Regions from separate parts of the Homo sapiens genome. Here all the other regions are linked to region 4. The links are contacts of gene promoters, found by promoter capture Hi-C in blood cells and fetal thymus (Javierre and others, 2016). All regions are on one chromosome and are shown on one strand. The core of a region is centred on a gene start or on the middle of the fragment in contact, and the rest is flanking DNA. Distances in the headings are between cores, read along the strand shown. Region 1 holds the start of CETN3 (centrin 3). Region 2 holds the start of AGGF1 (angiogenic factor with G-patch and FHA domains 1). Region 3 overlaps TMEM161B-DT (TMEM161B divergent transcript). Region 4 holds the start of TMEM167A (transmembrane protein 167A).

Evidence for each region. Contacts are between HindIII fragments. The CHiCAGO score rates a contact against its expected background, and 5 or more counts as called.
Region 1: a contact is called between a fragment that was not itself captured here and the fragment with the promoter of TMEM167A in region 4, in 1 of 17 cell types (non-activated CD4 T cells). The highest score is 5.6, in non-activated CD4 T cells.
Region 2: a fragment that was not itself captured here is called in contact with the fragment with the promoter of TMEM167A in region 4 in 1 of 17 cell types (non-activated CD4 T cells); the score reaches 6.8 in non-activated CD4 T cells.
Region 3: a contact is called between a fragment that was not itself captured here and the fragment with the promoter of TMEM167A in region 4, in 1 of 17 cell types (activated CD4 T cells). The highest score is 6.2, in activated CD4 T cells.

What each region holds. Positions count from the first base shown.
Region 1 is chr5:90,409,602-90,414,036 of GRCh38, reverse strand. CETN3 (centrin 3) reads left to right here and starts at 4,281. Exons shown (of 5, transcript NM_004365.4): 1 at 4,281-4,392. The coding sequence starts at 4,376. It overlaps LOC731157 (a long non-coding RNA gene), which reads right to left and starts at 4,037. Exons shown (of 2, transcript NR_105024.1): 1 at 3,733-4,037; 2 at 3,368-3,537. RefSeq lists an enhancer at 4,312-4,435. The HindIII fragment of the contact is 4,211 bases long and covers 1-4,190 here.
Region 2 is chr5:77,028,988-77,033,693 of GRCh38, reverse strand. AGGF1 (angiogenic factor with G-patch and FHA domains 1) reads right to left here and starts at 3,290. Exons shown (of 14, transcript NM_018046.5): 1 at 2,718-3,290. The coding sequence starts at 2,927. RefSeq lists enhancers at 2,473-3,052, 3,064-3,413, 3,053-3,632. The HindIII fragment of the contact is 3,112 bases long and covers 740-3,851 here.
Region 3 is chr5:88,270,849-88,275,418 of GRCh38, reverse strand. All of the region lies in intron 2 of TMEM161B-DT (TMEM161B divergent transcript), which reads right to left. It also overlaps the pseudogene RNA5SP187. Among named protein-coding and RNA genes, the nearest start is that of TMEM161B-DT, 4.3 kb to the right of the region's middle. The HindIII fragment of the contact is 4,499 bases long and covers 1,001-4,570 here.
Region 4 is chr5:83,074,264-83,079,196 of GRCh38, reverse strand. It overlaps TMEM167A (transmembrane protein 167A), which reads left to right and starts at 1,803. Exons shown (of 4, transcript NM_174909.5): 1 at 1,803-1,876. The coding sequence starts at 1,874. XRCC4 (X-ray repair cross complementing 4) reads right to left here and starts at 1,650. Exons shown (of 8, transcript NM_003401.5): 1 at 1,582-1,650. RefSeq lists enhancers at 756-1,721, 1,796-2,065, 1,722-2,687 and a silencer at 1,646-1,735. The HindIII fragment of the contact is 1,765 bases long and covers 820-2,584 here.

The DNA.
Region 1 (4,435 bases), core at 836-3,335, 7.3 Mb before region 4:
TTGATGCTCTGAAATGGCTTCTTTATGTGTCTAGGTGTGGTTCTTTTACTATTATTTTGCTCAGTACTAAATGTGTTCTATCAATTTGGAGACCTGTATTTATCTTCAGTTCCTCGAAGTATCTTTTCAATGTGTGATATTTTTCTCCTCCTCCTCTTGTTCTCTCTTTCAGAAATTCTTATTAGTCAAATAATGAATTAGTCCTCCATTTTTTTCTCAAAATTCTCCATGTTTTTGTTTGAATACTGCAAGTTTTGTGATATTTTTTCAATTAAATCATCTTGCCAGTTTAATTTTTACATTCATGTTTATTTTCAACAGTCTTTTCTTATTCTCCAATGCTCCTTTTTCAGAGTATTCTGTTCTCTAATATTTTCTTGAGTACTTCTTAGGCAGCTTATTATTATTAATTTCTTATTATTTTATTTTGGTTCCTTAGCTGACTCAGAGTCTTCCTGAAATGGTTTTTAGTTTTATCTTTCATGCTGTTGATTTTCATATCTCTGATGGTTTTTCATTCTTCATTCATTTTAAAGACTCAGGCCACGTGCCGTAGCTCACGTTTGTAATCCCAGCACTTCAGGAGGCCAAGGCGCAAGGTGGGAGGTTGCTTGAGCCCAGGAGGTTGAGGTTGCAGTGAGCTATGATCTAAGGCCATGTCATTGCCCTCCAGCCTGGGCAACAGAGAGAACCCCCGTCTCTAAAAAAAGGAAAAAAAAAAGAGTGGAGTTCTAGATAGATGTAAAGAGACAAAACACTGGGGAGAGGAATCTGGAGGAACTGAAGTACAGTGGTTTCCTAAAGAGGTTTTAAATTGACATTTTGTTTTTAGCCCCCTTCTCATTTCCACCTTCTACTGTACAAGGGAACTCTATTCCTGGAGTCTCTCTGGGACTTTGCTAGGTAGATCAACTCTCTGTGAAACATAAGTCATCTCTGGAAAATTATAGGATGCCACTTCAGTGATCTGTTTCATTTGTCAACAAGTTTCCATATTTCTTTTGATCTTTCCAATAATTTTTTAAATACCTAGTCTGCTGATGGTCCCTCTCCAGGTCACTTCAGCTTTAGAAATTAATTTATTGGCTAGGCATGGGAGCTAATTCCTGTAATCTCAACACTCTGGGAGCCTGAGGCTGGAGGGTCACTTGAGACCAGGAGTTCTAGACCAGCCTGGGCAACACAGCAACACAGTGTAAAATTTAAAAAAAATTAGCTGAGCATGGTGGCATGCTTCTGTAGTCCTAACTTTTCAGGAGCTGAGGCGGGAGGATCCTTTGAGCCCAGGAGTTTGAGGTTACAGTGAGTTATGCCACTGCACTCCAGCGTGGGTGATAGAGGAACTCTTGATTTATTAAGGCTTTAGGAGGCAGACTAAACAAATATTTATGTCACTACCTTTTCAAAGCAGACATTTTTATTTACATTTGGCTGTCTCTGGAATTTCTGGTCTGATTACCATTGTACCAAATACATTTTAGTGTCCCATACAGCAATTTTTGTATTATTATTCTTTTTCACAGTTTAGTAAGTTATTTTTATAGAATTGTTGTTGAGATGGTCTTTGGAATACCTTTGTTCAATTCAAGAAAAATATGAGAATTTTGATTGCATCAAATTTAGGTTTAAAATATAATTAGTGTAACCACCTGTCTTATCTTTAGTAATAGATGATTAGACCCCAAGTTTCAGCAGAGCAGTTTTCCATCTAGAGATTTCTTGCCTCAACCTCCCGTGAAGCAAGAAGTGGTTGTCACTAGTTCTCACTAATTAAATATAATAAAAGTGATGCGTGTAAATTCCCTGTCACTCTCTTAAAAGGACACCCTATTGAAAACCTTTTAAAATCTGTTTGCCCAAATTATTTGCTTATAAAACGCACTCTGAGACCAAAAGCATCTCACAAAATCCTAGTGTTTCAGGAATGAGGTTTGAGAAACACTGGTGTTTAAGTATTCTGCCGATCATATTTAAAAAAGTATTTTCTAAACCCACTTTATATCCTAATAGAAAAGGTGTTACCTATTATTCAGTGCCTTTTTGACACTGAGATGATTTCCTTAACCTAACATTATAATTATTTAACACAGATTTATATTTTGAATTATCTTTGCACTTAACAAAAAAAAACTCAATTTAGTTATAGAGAAATGTTCCTTTAAGACAGTATCAAACTGACTTTGCTAACATCTAGGAATTTTGCACTTAAGTTCACAAATGAACATCAAACATGAGTCAGGCACTGGGGATACAATGGTGAGAAACATGCATAGCCTTCATCATCACTGAGCTTACACTGAGTGACTTTAAATGTTCTTTTAGGATGTGAAAGATTATGGCAGCTTCAAAAATTAAGCTAAGAAGCTCTCCATCATTTTCTATGACTTGAGTTTAAAGCACAAGATTTAGCTCTTATGATTTTTAATCATAAATCTGAGTGGGCTGGAGGCTTTTTATTTGTGAGTACAGAACTTTGGCATCTTTGTTCCAGTCCTGTCTGTAGTTATTGACTTAATTCAGTTTTCCACCTTTTTTGAGTTATGTTTTCCTTGAAAAGTGACTATTTCATTTTCTATTAATATTTATTGGCGGTATAAAATTGTATAAAATATTTTAATAATTTTTAAACCTCCCTTTTATTAAATTACCAACCTTACTAGTGGCACTATTCCTTTTCTTGTTACACTTCCTATAAGTCTTTGAATTTCACTGGTATTGCCAAAAACCAGCTTTATACTAGATTATGAGTACTTTATCAATTTTACCAATTTCCTTTTAAAACACTGTTCTCAAACTTTATCTTTACTAATTTCCTCTTCCTAATTTCAATTATACAATTTGTTCTTCGTTTCTAACATCTTCAAATAAATGCTTGGCCTATTTTTATTCTTTCTTATTTAAAATAATGTTCTCCTATAACTTGGTCTGTATCTTAAAATTTTAACATATAGTTTTTTTCAATATCATTATGTTCTAGTAACTACAATTTCTCTTTCCTTTTAGACTCAAAGGTGATTTATAAAGGTACTTTAAAATTTAAAATACGAACAAAATAAAAGTTCCACTTTTGTTTTTTAGGGGTGCTATCCCTTAGCTAATTTTTAGCTTATTCTATCATACTATCTTTCCTTGTGCAAATTTAGCCCATCCTTCTAGGTCTAACGTTTATGTCACCTCCTTTAAGAAGCATATCTTGTGTTCTCTCCCTTCTCTAAAATTTTATATACATCCCTTAAACATATAATGTTTATATATTCTCCGCCTTCAACTCCCATCCTCAGGCTATTTTATTCACGTTTATGAGATTTGCTGTTTAGCTCAGTATTTTGTGGATTTTCAAAAGATTCCACTCAATTTACCGAGCACCTACGCACCAGACATTTTATTAGGTACAAGGAAAAGCGTTAAATAGATATAATCACGGCCTCCAAGAAATTGAACCTAGTAAGAGACACGAATAAGCAGACATTCAAGTGAGCTTTAGGAGACTTGGTTTGGTAGTGAAGACAGTCTCATGTGTGTTAACAGCTTACAGCACTGAAAAATAAGAGACAGAAGGGAACAAATCCGTTTCAAACAGTTCAAAGGAGGAAAGAGAGGGAAAGGTGGTTTAGATACAGCTAAATCATAAATAGCCTGATAATCTAACCCTGTGATAATCCAAGTACAGCCACAGCACCTGCCTCAGAATCACTTGGAAGGCTTGTGAGGAGTAAAAACGCAGATTCATACCTACTGAAATTAGAATGGAGAAACGGACATTTAAGTCTGCATTTTAAACACATTCCCCAGGTACTGAGGCCATTCCAAGTTTTAGAACAGAGCACAGCCAATTTTCGCAGACCTTGTTCCTCAAGTACTCCCTCCTTCTAGCCGGAGGGTGGCCTGCAGCATGTCCCTTCCCTTCCCACCGCCGAAGCTGTCCATCCAGTTTCTGAATGGCGGCCCACAGACCGCACGGCTTTACGAGAGAGGAACACAGCGCCCACCCGCCAAACAGCCACACAGGGATCGGAGGCCGGACCCGCAAAGGATTCGGGGAAAAACGCATCGAGCCAATCCGAAGGGCGAGAGCGGCCCTAGATTGGGGGGGCGGGGGGGCGTTAGGAGGTGGGCGGGGCACAGAAAAAAAATTTTTTTTTCCTTGATTGACGTAAAACCTACCCAATGAAAATAGAACTGGTAAAGCTTCCGCCCCCTAATAGGCAGAACCATAGCGACATTTCAACCAATCCAGCTCAAAAGTGTCTATGTTGTGGGAGGTCCCTGAGGCCGCTGAGGTCGTTCGTGTCTGTTGAACGGCTGTGGGCGTCTTGCTGCCTTGGGTAGGGGGTTAAAATCGTTCTTGAGAGGAACGTCTCTGTGCGAAGAGATAATGAGTTTAGCTCTGAGGTCGGTAATAAGGAGGCGGCAGTGCTCTCCACACCCCGGAGCG
Region 2 (4,706 bases), core at 1,046-3,545, 6.0 Mb after region 4:
AAATATTTATTTAATGATACATAAAGCTTAAACAGAGAAAGGTGATAAAACTGATCTGTTGCTAATACTAGGGCAGGAACTACAGTGAGGGAAGCAAGACACTGATCGTGAAAAATCTGAGGCGCTCCTCTGATTCATGCAAGTACAGAGTTCATCGCTGGGAATTAGTGCCCCATTAAATTCCTCGCCCTAGGAGCCTGATTGCCTTGCCCTAAATCCTGGCTCTGGCTACTGTCCCTATCACTATGAATTAGATTACTTAGTATCTACTACATGCTGGGCACTATACTTGATGCTTTAGATAACATCTCATTAATTCACAAAACCACCTGAAATATTCGTTGTCCTAACCCCAATTTTACACATAAAATATCAGACAAGACAAAGTAATTTGCACAAGGCTATTTTGGGGTCTTGTACAAACCCTATACATATTATGGTTCTCCAGTTATCATTCTCAAGCAAAACTTTTTAACTGCTCCAAATAAAACACATTCAGTAATTTGGAATGACAGTTAATCGAATCCACCCTCTCCCCAACCAAGGGAGGCTGACTAGGAGAGTAAGGAGTTATCACTATTCAAAGTAGAGTCAAGACTTTCTATGAGATTAAATTTTTAATATTGGACTAAAATGGAGGCATGTGGAGGACAGATGATCCTCTCAGGCAATTACCTTCTGTTCGCTTCTGCTGCAGTTTAGTCACAGAACTACTATTTTTTTAAAGTGTATTAAAGCTTATAAGAGGCATTAACATTTAATAACTAAATCCACGTGAACATTGAATGATATTAGATAACATGAATGGGAATTGATAGCTCTTAAATTTTCTAATTCTTTAGGGAGAATTGCTGACCTCTCAAAATATTAGCATAAAAACATTCTTTTCTGTAAGAAATAAAGGATCTGTTCACAAAGTCCCATCATTTAGTCTGATTTATCAAATTAACAGTAACACCAAAATGCTGGCTCTCTGAAGATTAGCAAAAAACGTTTTCTTTTAGAATCTCTAACGCAAGCAGTACTTCAACAATTTAGAATTATAAAGGAGCTTTTCAAAAGGCTGTCATGTAAAAAAGGCTGTTATATTTTGCTCCCGTCTCCCCATTTTTTTTTTTTTTTTTTTTTTTGAGACGGAGTCTTGCTTTGTCGCCCAGGCTGGAGTGCAGTGGCGCAATCTCGGCTCACTGCAAGCTCCGCCTCCCGGGTTCACGCCATTCTCCTGCCTCAGCCTGTAGCTGGGACTACAGGCGCCCGCCACCACGCTCGGCTAATTTTTTTTGTATTTTTACTAGAGACAGGGTTTTACTGTGTTAGCCAGGATGGTCTCGATCTTCTGACCTCGTGATTCGCCCGCCTCGGCCTCCCAAAGTGCTAGGATTACAGGCGTGAGCCACCGCGCCCAGCCACCTCTCCCTGTTTTTTTTTTTTTTTTTTTTTTACCATATTTGTATTTTCCTAGCATAGTTATTACACACCGTAGGTGTTTAAATTGACTAAACAAAAACTTTCCAATAATGTCATGTCAGGAACTCCATGTAATGGTCATACAAAGTCATTGCAACTCAACAGTTATTTTCATAGTCCATTTGGTAACAAAACAAAGAAGTCTGATGACGTTTCAGTGTTCAGCCTATATACTGGTTTTAGGAAACCACCAATAAATTATGAAGGACTAGACAACGGTCAAATTGAAACTAGTTACTATGTGGAAATAATCTGTTGGCAGAGAGGGCCTGCCAACAAGGTAGAAAAAAATACTATGCTCTTGGTTTTTTGGTTTTTATTTTGAGACAGAGTTGCACTCTGTCGCCCTGGCTGGAGTGCAGTGGCACGATCTCGGCTCACTGCAACCTCCACCACCTAGGTTCAAGCAATTCTCCTGCCTCAGCCTCCCGACTAGCTGCGATTCCAGGTGCCCGCCGCCACGCCCGGCTAATTTTTGTATTTAGTAGAGACGCCCGGCTAAATTTTGTATTTCACCATGCTGGCCAGACTGCTCTCGAACTCCTGACCTGGTGATCTGCCCGCCTCGGCCTCCCAAAGTGCTGGGATTACAGGCGTGAGCTACCGCGTCCAGCCAAGGTTGTTTTTAATGTGACAGTTTAAGTATTAACATTTGCCCCTACCATCTTGGAAACGAAATAAGCTGCTTAACGTCTCCAACAAAAGCAGTTATATATCGTCCCTACTTACACAAGAAAGCCGAAGATGATAAACGCCCAGAAGAGCAACCTTAAACAGGTATAGCATTCAAAAGTTTGTAAAATTGTTTGTTTTACTTCACCTTTACTACTGTGAGCTATCATTCTCATTTAATGGGGAACTGAGACTCGGTATATAAGTTCACACACCCAGTGAATAGCAGAGATGGGATTCTGACTCAAGTCCAGCATTTTAATAAACTCAAATGTGATCTACAGTAAATGCGCCTACTGCCAATGGGATGTTAGGTCAAGTGAGAATGAAGACAATGTAGCCACAGTACTTAAGTTCAATTCACGCCAGCCGCGAGACATTGATTTAAATCAAGTAACCTGAACTCAGGTTTGCTCCTAAGGTACTTGGAATTGTAACTGCGCTGAGCTTCTACTTATTTACTTTAAGTACTCTACAGTAGTTCTGAGCCCCTGCCAGGGACCCCTTCCGAGGCTATCACGGGCTTCGAAGGCCTCGCCTGGGCTGGATGGGGCGCGGGGCTGAGGAGGACCGCGCACCTGCGTGCGGAGCTCCTGGTTGTTGCTTTCTGCGTTCTGGTACAGCCGTTCTGTGTGATGCAGCAGCTTCTCGATCTCCCGCACCTGCCGCTTGCAGCTCCGCAGTTCACGTTCCAACTTCTCCACCTTCCGCCTTAGCTGGGCCAGCTCAGGCTCGGGGGAGGTGGGCGGCGGCGGCGACCGCGGCGGGGACGGCGCCTCCGAGGCCATGAGCTCCGGCGCGAGACTGCTCGTCGCCGCGGAGGGGCTGCGTTCAGGCCGAAACGGACGCCGGCGGACCCAGAGACCACTGGAGCGCGCGGGCAGCGAAAGGCAGCCTCACACCCGGCTGGCCGCGGTGGCCCCTGGCCATGACGCCCTGAAACTCACTTGTAGCCGAACGGGGCTGCGAGCAACGAGCAAGGGGACCGAGGATGGCCCCTGCCCGATGTGCGCGGCCTGCAAACCGGAAAACTTTCCTGGAAACTACCTTCTCCAGCTACAGAGACAGAGGGAGGAGCGTCGGATAAGCAGTCGGAAAACCAGAGGCCAGAAGAGCTCCAGCAGCTCCCCAGTTGAGCCGGAAACAACGGCGCCAGCGGCAGGCGGGACCAAGACGGAACAGGAAGCGACGGAAAGCGGGAAGACCTGACAGTGTACGTGCCGACGTCTCGGCCTGCGGAGGGGCGTTACCTGAGGGCGTGGAGAGCTGTGGCAATGTGGCTACCGAAGCCCTAAGAGCGACAGGGAGGCTTGCAGCCTCTGGTCTCAGACATTTGCACGTGCGGATGTTCTTTGAACAAACTTTTAGTATAGCATGCATTTCCTATCTCCTTGTTTTACAAATAAGAACAGAGTATCCCAGAAATGATTTGTGGGGACTATGATGCTCTACTTATGTCAACTGAAGAATGAGGAGGTTAATAAATTTAGAAAAGGGCTTTATTTCTCATGAAGGGTTACAGCCTGCAGGGTGGCCTTTCTGACAGGCTTGGAAGCATAGCCTCTGGTCAGAAGCTGAGAACAGACACTTGGAAGGAAGGACAAAGGGAACAGAAATTTATGCTGAGCAGGGTGGCCAAATATATTCAATGAGCTGTAGGAGGATTCATGAATATTTATGAAAGGAGAAATATGCACATGCACAATTAAGCTTCCTGCCTCTCTATGGGACCCATATTCAAAAAATGGTGGTGTTAGCATGATCCCAGTGTGAAGTTTTCAGCCCTCTGATGTCAAATGGCAAAGCAGAGGACATGAAAACCCTCGCTGTGAGTCCCTGGTAGATTGGCCAGAACTTCTCTGTGGTTGGTGGTCTCTTATCAGGAAGGAATGCTGGTTGGTGTGAAATCAGCCCAACTGTCCTATAGAACTGATGTTTATGGTTTCTTTTGAATAAACCTGGAAATTTACCCTCCCAGTCTTAAAACTTCAGAAAGTTACATCTTTCTTATCTGAGTTCCTTTCTTGGGAAACCAACCATGAGGCCTCCCAGATAGTATCAAGGAATTGAAACTTACCAGATCACTGCATCTGGACAATGAGGCACCATACCCCTCACCCATCATGATTGCCTAACCAGCCACCTGCTGCCTGTTGAACAAGTCCTCATCCTTACCGCTCACTAATTCCTGTTTTCTCACATGTAGTCACATTTCTCCCTTGCCATATAAACCTCTAATTTTAGTTGGTTGAGGAGATGGATTTGAGACTGATTTCCTATTCTCCTTGGCTGCAGCACCCAAATAGAACCTTCTTCCCTGGCAATACTCCTTGTCTCAATGACTGGCTTTCTATGTAGTGAACAATGGGTCTATTCAGTCAGTTCAGGGGCTCAGAATTTTACTTTTATTTCTCATTTAGTCATTCTTCTGGTTCCTGAGTTTAGACCCCCCGGGAAAATAGAGCAAGTACATTAGGTCTGAGTCGCAAAAAGGAGCATCCCTGGTGGGAAAATAAGAGAGAGACAATATTCTGTGGAAAAGGGGAGAAAAATGCTCTGGTTTGGTG
Region 3 (4,570 bases), core at 2,001-4,500, 5.2 Mb before region 4:
AAAGATTGAGATATTGGATAAACAACTGGAAACAATAAAACAGAATCAAGTAGAAATGTTTGAACTGATAACCAAAAATATAACTAAAATAAATGCTTCAAGAGAGATTTAACAAATTCGAGACTACTAAGAGAAAATAGTGAACTGAAAGTTAAGAAGAAATATTCAGGATGAAACAGACAAGAAAATAAATGGAAAATACAAGGGACAAAGTGAATTGTCAAATACAAATGTAAGTGGAGTATCAAAAGAAGAGGAGAAAGGAGAGTGAAAGCAGAAGCAATGTCTGATCAAACAGAGCTAAGAATTTTCTCAAACAGCCTAAGGACATCACAGCCAGATTCAAGAAACATTATCAATCTCGAAGCAGAAAAAAACCACACACACAAAAAAACAAACACAAAACACATGTGGGCACACCAAACTTAAGACAAACCTCTTAAAAGTAGCCATCCAAAAAAAGATTACCTTTGAAGAGAAAAAAACAAAATGGACATTATGTCTTAGAGGACATAATGGAAGCCAGAAGGAATAAAATATATCTTCAAAATGATAAAATAGCTGCTAATTCAGCAAAAACGTTCTTAGAAAATGAAAGTAAAATAAGACAGTGTCAGGACAGAAAATCTGAATGAATTGTTACCAGTAGATATTCGAAGAAATATTAAAGTATGTCCTTCAAGAAGAAATAAGGTCTTAGATGGAAGCTCAGATTCCAGGAACCACGAAACACAATAGAAAAAGTAAATGTTTTATACAATATGAAATGTAAATTCATATTGTATAAAAAATGTCTTGAGAATTTAGGAAATACATATTAAGAATATACAATGTATATAACATGAGGTGTGGCAGTAAATGAAGTTGATGTGTTCGCAGGTCCTTACATTGTCCTGGAAGAAGTATAATACCAAATTATCTTAAAGATGATAAACCAAGGTTCCATGTTTTAATACCTGAGGTGAACAGTAAAAAGATACTAAAAGACATCTGTCAAGCTTATGAGGTAGAAAAAATGGAATAATTAAAAATAATCTAAAAGGTCTATAGCCATACCACCCTGAATATGCCTGTTCTCATCTGATCTGGGAAGCTAAGCAGGGCTGGGGCTGATTGGCACTTGGATGAGAGTCTGCCTGGGAATATCAGGTGCTATGGCCTAATTAAGAAAAAAAAAAATCAAAAAGGCAAAAGAAGACAAAATGAACATATAAGAGGTGGGACAAATAAAATAAGAATAATGACAAATTTAAATCCAAGTATGTTAGTAATTATGTTACATGAAAGCTGACTCTTTATGCCAATTAACAAATTACCAAAGTGGATTTTAAAAATATATTATCTTATATTACTCTTTGGATTAAAATGCTCTCATTTTTTTTTCCATTGCACATAGAATAAAATCTAAACTCTTTCCTGTCTTTCAAAGGTAACATGATCTAGCCCTTTCCTATCCCTCCAAAGTTACAGTATTTGCGTCTTAAGTCACTATTCTCTAACCATGCAGGCCTTCTTTTGGCTCCTGAAATATTCCAGGCTAGATCATGCCTTAGATTTTGCAGTTGTCCCTTCTGCAAGCAAAGGGTTCACCAATTTTTACAAAGCTGGATTCTCTTGTCATTTACACAGCAGCTTAAATGGTATTTTAGTTTCTTTAATCACCTAATCTAAAATAGTCATGTTTGAATTTCATGCCTAGTACTTACCACTGTCTTCTGTTTTTGTTAATTTATGGCTTATTACTACTAAAATGTAAATTTCCTGATAGTAGGGACAATATCTGCTTTATTTACCACTATTTCCTCAGAGTGTAGAAGAGTGAATGATACAGTTTTATATTCAATAACTATTTAATGGATGGATAAAGCTAATTAAAGTTTTAAACAGATAGGTACTTTCAGACAGTTTTGTCTTTTTACTGCTATTGGTGGTACTGATTGTTTAAAGACTTTCTTGATACCAAAAAATATCAAATGGATGTATGTGAGTGGTCCTTGAAAATGTGCACTGTACAACCTGTGTAAAATTGCAAGGGTTATTTCACCAATTAATCAGCTATGTGATATATTCCTAGATACAACTGTGGTAAGCTACATGAAAATAAAAATTCAGAAGTCTACTGAATTGTTAAAGGTTGCAATATACTTCAGAATAACATTTAAAACATTTTTTTTTCCAGCCTAGAAAGATGAGAGTAATATAGTGGATGTTAAAAAGCATGTTGAAAACAAAAAAAATCCTCATCCTTTTTTTTTTTTCTTGAGATAGTCTCGCTCTGTCACACAGGCTGGAGTGCAGTGGTGCCATCACAGCTCTCCGCAACCTCTGCTTCACAGGCCCAAGCGATCCTCCCACCTCAGCCTCCCAAGTAGGTGGGGCTACAGGGGTGTGCCACCATGCCTGGTTAATTTTTATATTTTTGTAAAGAGGGGGTTTTGCCATGTTGGCCAGGCTGGTCTTGAATTCCTGGCCTCAAGTGATCTGCCCAACTCGGCCTCCCAAAGTGCTGGGATTATAGGCATGAGTCACTATGGTCAGCAAAAAAAATAAATAAATAAATAAATAAAATCCCCCAATATACAAAGTTTGTTTTAGAGTGTTAATGCCAGCAGTGGGGATTGATATATTTTGGTTACTTTTTGCAATTTGTGCTTAAAATTTGTTTCATGTCAAAGCAATCATACTGGCCACAATTTTGCATCCTGCTGTCTTAATATGGGCAACTATAACCAAACTACCATAAACTGGGTGACTTAAACAACAGAAATTTATTTCTCACAGTTCTGGAGGCTGGGAAGTTAGAGAAGAGTGCCAGCATGGTTGGCACAAATTAGGCCCTCTTCCTGATTTGTAGTTGTCTGTTTTCTTGCTGTGTCCTCACATGGTGAAGAGCAAAGAAAGAGTGGAAGCAAGCTGTCTAGGGTCTCTTGTTGTAAAGGCACTAATCCCATGCAGGGCTTCACCCTTATTATTTAATCACCCCCCAAAGGCCCCACCTACTAATATCATGTCATTGGAGATTAAGGCTTCAATATATGAATTCTGGTGCGGAGGGAGGGGGGACACAAACATGCAGTCTATAAAATGCTTTTTAATTTTTTGAGACAGGATCTTGCTCTGTTGCCCAGGCTGCAGTGCAGTGGCATGATCTTGGTTTACTGCAACATCTACCTCTTGGACCCAAGTGATCCTCCCACCTCAGTCTCCTGAGTAGCTGGAACTACGGGCACACCCCATCACACTCAGCTAATTTTTAAATTTTTTGTAGAGAAGAGGTCTCACTATATTGCCTAGGCTAGTCTCCAACTCTTGTGCTCTAGTGATCCTCCCACCTCAGCCTCCCATAGTGCTGCAATAACAGGAGTGAGCCACTGTGCCTGGCCTCAAATGCTGTTTTAACTTAGACAATAAACATTTTCCATTAGAAAGACTAGTCTAATGGCTCTTTAGAACAGCTAGATAAAATTCCACTAAGCATATATAACAATTGATCAATCTTATCGTCTGTAAGACTGCAACAAACTTTTTACCATTATAGGTATTACTACAAATAACGTCTTTGTCATAAAGCATTTTAAGGGCAATTTAAATGAAGTAACTGTTTACAACATTCACTTAAATGATATTTGTTATGGGGAAGGCGAGAAAACAAAACAAGGTCCCAGCTGTGGAGGAATTTATAGTCTAATTAGGAAAACAGTATATGTTAGGGGAAAAAAAACTACAATGAAAGCATACGACACTTAACCTTGTTCAGAAACAGTAATTTCTTAGCAGAAAAACTAAGCAGAACATTTTGCAAAAAATATGGACTGAACTGCGAAAAAGTGATATATCTTAATGGTTTAAAGAGTTCCAGGTCAGTGTGGGTATCGTACTTTTTGTTGGTCTTGAAAGCATTTGAGAACAGTTCTCATTCAGGACATTTCAACTCATCACAAAGCCCGAATGGTAAGCAACCAAGACTTTTCTCAAAGATTATGCTCCTAATTCCCTTGCTGAAACTACTGAATTTCTTTTCATCTCCATCTATCTTTTCTTCCCTTTCATAACTGTCCCCTTTCTTTGTATCTTTGTCAAAGACACTCACCTATTTTAAATAATGGAAACAGAGAAATTACTGTACTTCAAGGCAGGCAACCAATAGATAATAATATTATTCTACCAAAAAAAAAAGACTGGGTGGCACTACCTTAAAACATATATCCATTTTAATCATTAAATAGCATTACTTATATAACAGATTTTTCACATGTAATTGAGAGAACTGTGTGAAACAGAACATTAAAAGATATTAATCAAGAGTTATTCATCAACTTGCCATACAACAAATAAGGAACACTGCACTCTGTGATCTATTAAAAATGATAAGCAGATAATCAAAACTGCGATTTCTTTTCATGGTTTTACTCTAGCAGGAATGGATTCCATTCTGATAGTAATTCCAGTTTTACTGTCACATAGAAGGAGATACTTTGCGAACCTCAATGACTGCCAGGTTTAGGACAGATATTAAGAACCACAGTGTCAGAAATGAAAGAGTACAACTTCACAGAATGTGTTGTCTCTG
Region 4 (4,933 bases), core at 554-3,053:
AGGTACATAAGAAGTCATAGCCTAAAATTAATTAAAATATATAGATATAGCAAATCAATTGTGATCTCTAACAAGTTAAGCTTTCTGATGCTTTTCACAGGTAGCCTGAAGCAGAGCTTCATACAGAAGTATTACCTTTATATGTAACAAAGATCAAGACAATCTTCACATGAAACCAAGGGCAGTTATGTCTACAGACACATTTACTGCCCTAAAAGCCAAGCTCGATAAATTGCACAACATAATTTCCATAACTAAACCAGGTTTGTTTAATTTGAATGGCAAGACCTAAAAGGTATAATATAAAGGAATTACAAGACAGAACATTAAAAGACTTTTTTTATCCTTAGGTGGAGAGTACTGTATCTTTTAAATACCTTTCTTATTCCCCTCTCCCCCAACCTTATTAAATTCCTTAAAGGAACAGACCATCTTTGTTCCTATGCTGCAATCTGAAGATCCATGAATAAAGCAGGCACCCAGTAAATACTTGCTAATTTGTGTATTTGACCAACTCTTGACAATTCAATATAACAGACTCAAATATCAAGTTAGTTATAGTTTAAAACAAAACCTTTGTGTGCCCTAGTGAACAATGTAAACACAAATAGCAGAATCCCAAATCTTCTAATCATTGTGTTGCCCTAAATACAAAAGGGTCTCATAGGCCGAATACAGTTCATAAACCAAAATCTCACGTGAGTTACCTTCTCTCTTTCTCTCTATCCACCTTCTAAGTCCATAAAAAATTGAAAACATTCTGAAAAGAACTCTCTCCTGCCTGAGAAAAAATACACCACACATTTAGAACCAAAAGCTTGCCATAAGGGGGCAAAGAGTGAAAAACTCTCATTTCTAATACTTTATTAGAATTCCAAGAACTACGCAAATTCAAACATGTCAAAGCGCCTGTTTCTCCATCGATAAAATGCAGAAAGAAAAACGTGTGTGTGTAGTAGAACCTCACCTAATGGGATAATTAAAATCAGAAAAAGCTAAATACTACTACTGATTAAAAGTTGCCTTGTCATTTGTCTTGCCAGTTGATCTCTTTAAAGTACCTAATCAATCGCTGCAGTCCGCAAACGGCAGTTCCTTCCCATTGGTTACCACAGAAAGTTCTTTCCTGACCTCAAATTGCCTAGTACGTTTCAGCCTCGATGCCTGGTTGGAACCCACAGTTTACCAATATCTGGGGATTGAAAGGACAGGCCAGTGCTGGGGAAATGCTCAAACAGCCTACTCAACACTACCCTCTGGATTCAACCGTCCTCCCAATCCCACAACCAACACAGAGCATTTCAAAAGTGCTTCGCATTCCCAAGAATCCCTCAGATGCAAACGGAGAAACTGAAAAGGGGGTGAACAGGTCGCACCCTGAGGATAATGCCGAGAACCCTAGCATCCCCAAAAGCCCACAAGAGGAAGTCGCGGGAGCTCACAAATTGAGGGGGATTCTCGCATTGTGGAGTTCTAGGGGTAAGTAGCAGGGAACTTTTTTAAAAAGAAAGCAAAAAGATAAAAAGAACAGAACCTCAGATTTTTGTTATTTAAAGAGGCAGCCCCACTTCCGGATCCTACCTCTCCGTGACTCTACTTCCGGTATCTTCCAAAACGCCCGCTTTCACAGATCAAGGTTTTGCAACCAATGAGAGTATCAGCTACTTCCGCCGGCCTGCGGGACGTGATCTAAATCCCGCCTTTTCCGGTGGAGAGGAGCCTATCCTAGTGTCTTAACCGCCCGTCTTGGTAGGCGGTGCCGTGACAAGCCCAACCGGACGGCTGGAGAGGGCGAGAAGGGCAGACGGGACATGCAGCCTCTTCCGCCTGAGCCCCGGAAGGGTGATGTGGCTGCGGCATCGCCGGCCTCGCTATGGTAAGAAGTGGGGCTCCCAGGTCGCGGTTGATCTTCGAGAAGGGGTTGTGGATCTAGACTAGGGCTGGAGTTTGTGCGGCAGCCCGGGGTGTGTGGGCCCGGAGCTGAGAGGCCTTGGAGCCATGTGGTCCCTCCACGGCCAACCAGAGAGAATCAGGACGGACTGTCCGAGGAAGACTGCTGGGTCGGCAGCCCGCCCCTCATGCAAAGTCCGCTTTCCTACTTTGTTTAGGAAAAAAAAATGCGTTGGTGTGTTTTAACACGTTGGCTACGTAGATTATGTGTGGTCATTGACCCTTTGAAGCATTAGCGCTTCTCGAGTTTCCGCTTGTTTTGTTGCAACTCCTTATCTCGCCCTAGGGGCTTTACTCTGGTGTTATTGTTTGATTTTTGGGGGGAGTTTCTTTTGGCACCAAACTCCATACCTTCATTTTCATCTGTTTAGTCAGTAGCCTCTCAAGACCCTTCCACCTTCTTCTCTTAACTTTGAAAATGCTGCTTTACAAGCTATAGGTTTTAATAGTTAAGAGTTCTCTGCAAAGGTGGATTGCCCTTCTAGGAGCTTAATGTACTTATTGGAGTGGTGTCTAGCCTCAGGCCTTCCTCCTCTTTTACCTCCAGGTCCATGTGCCAAATGTTATGTATATTTCTGGACAAAGGATGCATGCCTGCAAATAGACCCAAAAACAACTATGACTCCAAAAAGCTTGAGTCTCCATGGTGAAAAATTATGAGCCTATGTTCACAGAAGTTGCTGCAGAATCCCATATAGCAATAATTCATTTTCTTCTCTGGACGAATTTACCACCTGGTGGGAAGATGGCAGTTGAGACTAGGAAGACTGCCACTCTTAATTCTTATACATCTTTCTAGAAACTGAAGTTGAATTCTTCTACTCGTAGTGCAAGTCAAAGATAACTCTTTTTATTATCTCACTGTCAGACTAGCTAAAAATAAGATGCATATACTGTGCTTAAGATCAACAGTATATAAACTATCTTGTCATGCTTGTTTTTCCAAAAGTAGCAAATGCTTTCATTTATTATCACGTCCTATGTACCAGGCTCTTTTCAAAAAATCAGTTTATAAGCATGGAAATATCAAGTTCACAGCAACTTCTGAATAGATGTTTACAAGTGAAAGAAGTGAAACATGAAGAGACTGACTTGCCTCGGATCACACCTAGTAGATTGTAAAGCCAGTACTCAAACTTATTTTAATGTCCAGGTCCCCGAAATCTTCATGCTGTTATCGATAGAAACACAACATAACTAAGGATGAAATAAGACTTAGTGATTTGTTTCTTATAAATATAAGTACATAAATTAGACATAGGTGGAAAACGGAAACAACTGGCAGGTGGTTTTTTATTCCTGTGAGCTTGGGATGTCAAAAGTACATTGTTTGCAGAGCTACGAAGTGAGGTTTCAAGAAGGCTAACTTAGCAGCTTAAGAAATGGATTAGTGTCTCAGTATCTTTGAGTTCGCATCTAAACTTAGTTTATTTGTGAGGTAACCCAATGGTAATGACTTAATAAACCTGAATTACTGTATTTTAATGATTTTTTTTTTTTTTGAGATGGAGTCTCCCTCTGTTGCCCAGGCTGGAGTGCAGTGGCATAATCTCAGCTCACTGCAACCTCTGCTTCCTGGGTTCAAGCAATTCTCCTGCCTCAGCCTCCCGAGTAGCTGGGACTACAGGCGTGCACAACCACGCCTGGCTAATTTTTGTATTTTTAGTAGAGACGAGGTTTCACCATGTTGGCCAAGATGGTCTCGATCTCTTGACCTCGTGATCCTCCCACCTCAGCCTCCCAAAGTGCTGGGATTACAGGCGTGAGCCACCGTCCCCAGCCAAGAATCTTTTTAAAAAGCATTTCAAGGATAAAATGTTTATCAGCAGTAATAATTTACAACTGTCAGCATGAACAGTAATTGTAGCACTTGTGAATTAATACTTTTAAAGAATTTCAGAATGCCTTGTTCCCCCCAACACCTAACATCCTTCAACATTTCTCTCATGTCTCATCTCTTTCCAAAAAGCCTCCCTTAACCCCTTCTATTTTCTTCTACTCTCTTTAGGTATCTATAGGGATATTCCTAGTTCATATGTATACTTCCAGTATCCCTCTAGCATAACCCTTTTCACAGAAAACAGCAATAAGGTGTTGCCTGCATTTCTCCCTCTCTAGGCAGAATTCTTAAAGACTAGGTATTTTAATCTCTACAGTCACAGTGCCAGCTGGAGTTATTACTCCATTAAGAGTCTGGGCCTGTAATCTCAGCACTTTGGGAGGCCAAGGTGGGTAGATCAACTGAGGTCGGGAGTTGGAGACCAGCCTGACCAGTGTGGAGAAACCCCATCTCTACTAAAAATAAAAAATTAGCCGGGCGTGGTGGCACATGCCTGTAATCCCAGCTACTTGGGAGGCTGAGGCAGGAGAATCACTTGAACCCAGGAGGTGGAGGTTGCGGTGTGTCGAGATTGTGCCATTGCACTCCAGCCTGGACAACAAGAGCGAAACTCCATCTCAAAAAAAAAAAAAGAGTCTGGGGATACAAACATGCTCAGTGTCTTCAAGGATTTCACAGTCCAGTGGGGGAAATTATTAAATAAGTAAATTCCATCTGTTGTCTGCTATGTTGTAGCAAGACAACACATGTAGTAGAGAGAGCATGGGTTTAGACTGAGCCAAACAGAGTTAGAATCATTTCCAGTTCCGAACCTTTACTTGGTTAACTCTAAGGGAGTTTATTTTCATGTCTTTTTCTTGGTGCACTAAATGATTTTCACAAACTCTGCAAAGCAGGAATGATTGCCCACATTTCATAATTAAACTGAGTCTCCAGAGAATAGATGTGAAGTATTTTCTCTCCTCTTATAGCAGAAGATATGTAGAAAATCATTAAACACAGTGGAAGGAGTAGTACTGGCTGGGAACTGCTTGAGAGATGTCCCCAAGAAAGAAGTAATTCTCTCTCACCTGTACTTTAAAGAGTATTAGGGAAGGAGTCATTAGCTAGAGGTGGGACAGCAATCTCTATCCCGTAGATAAA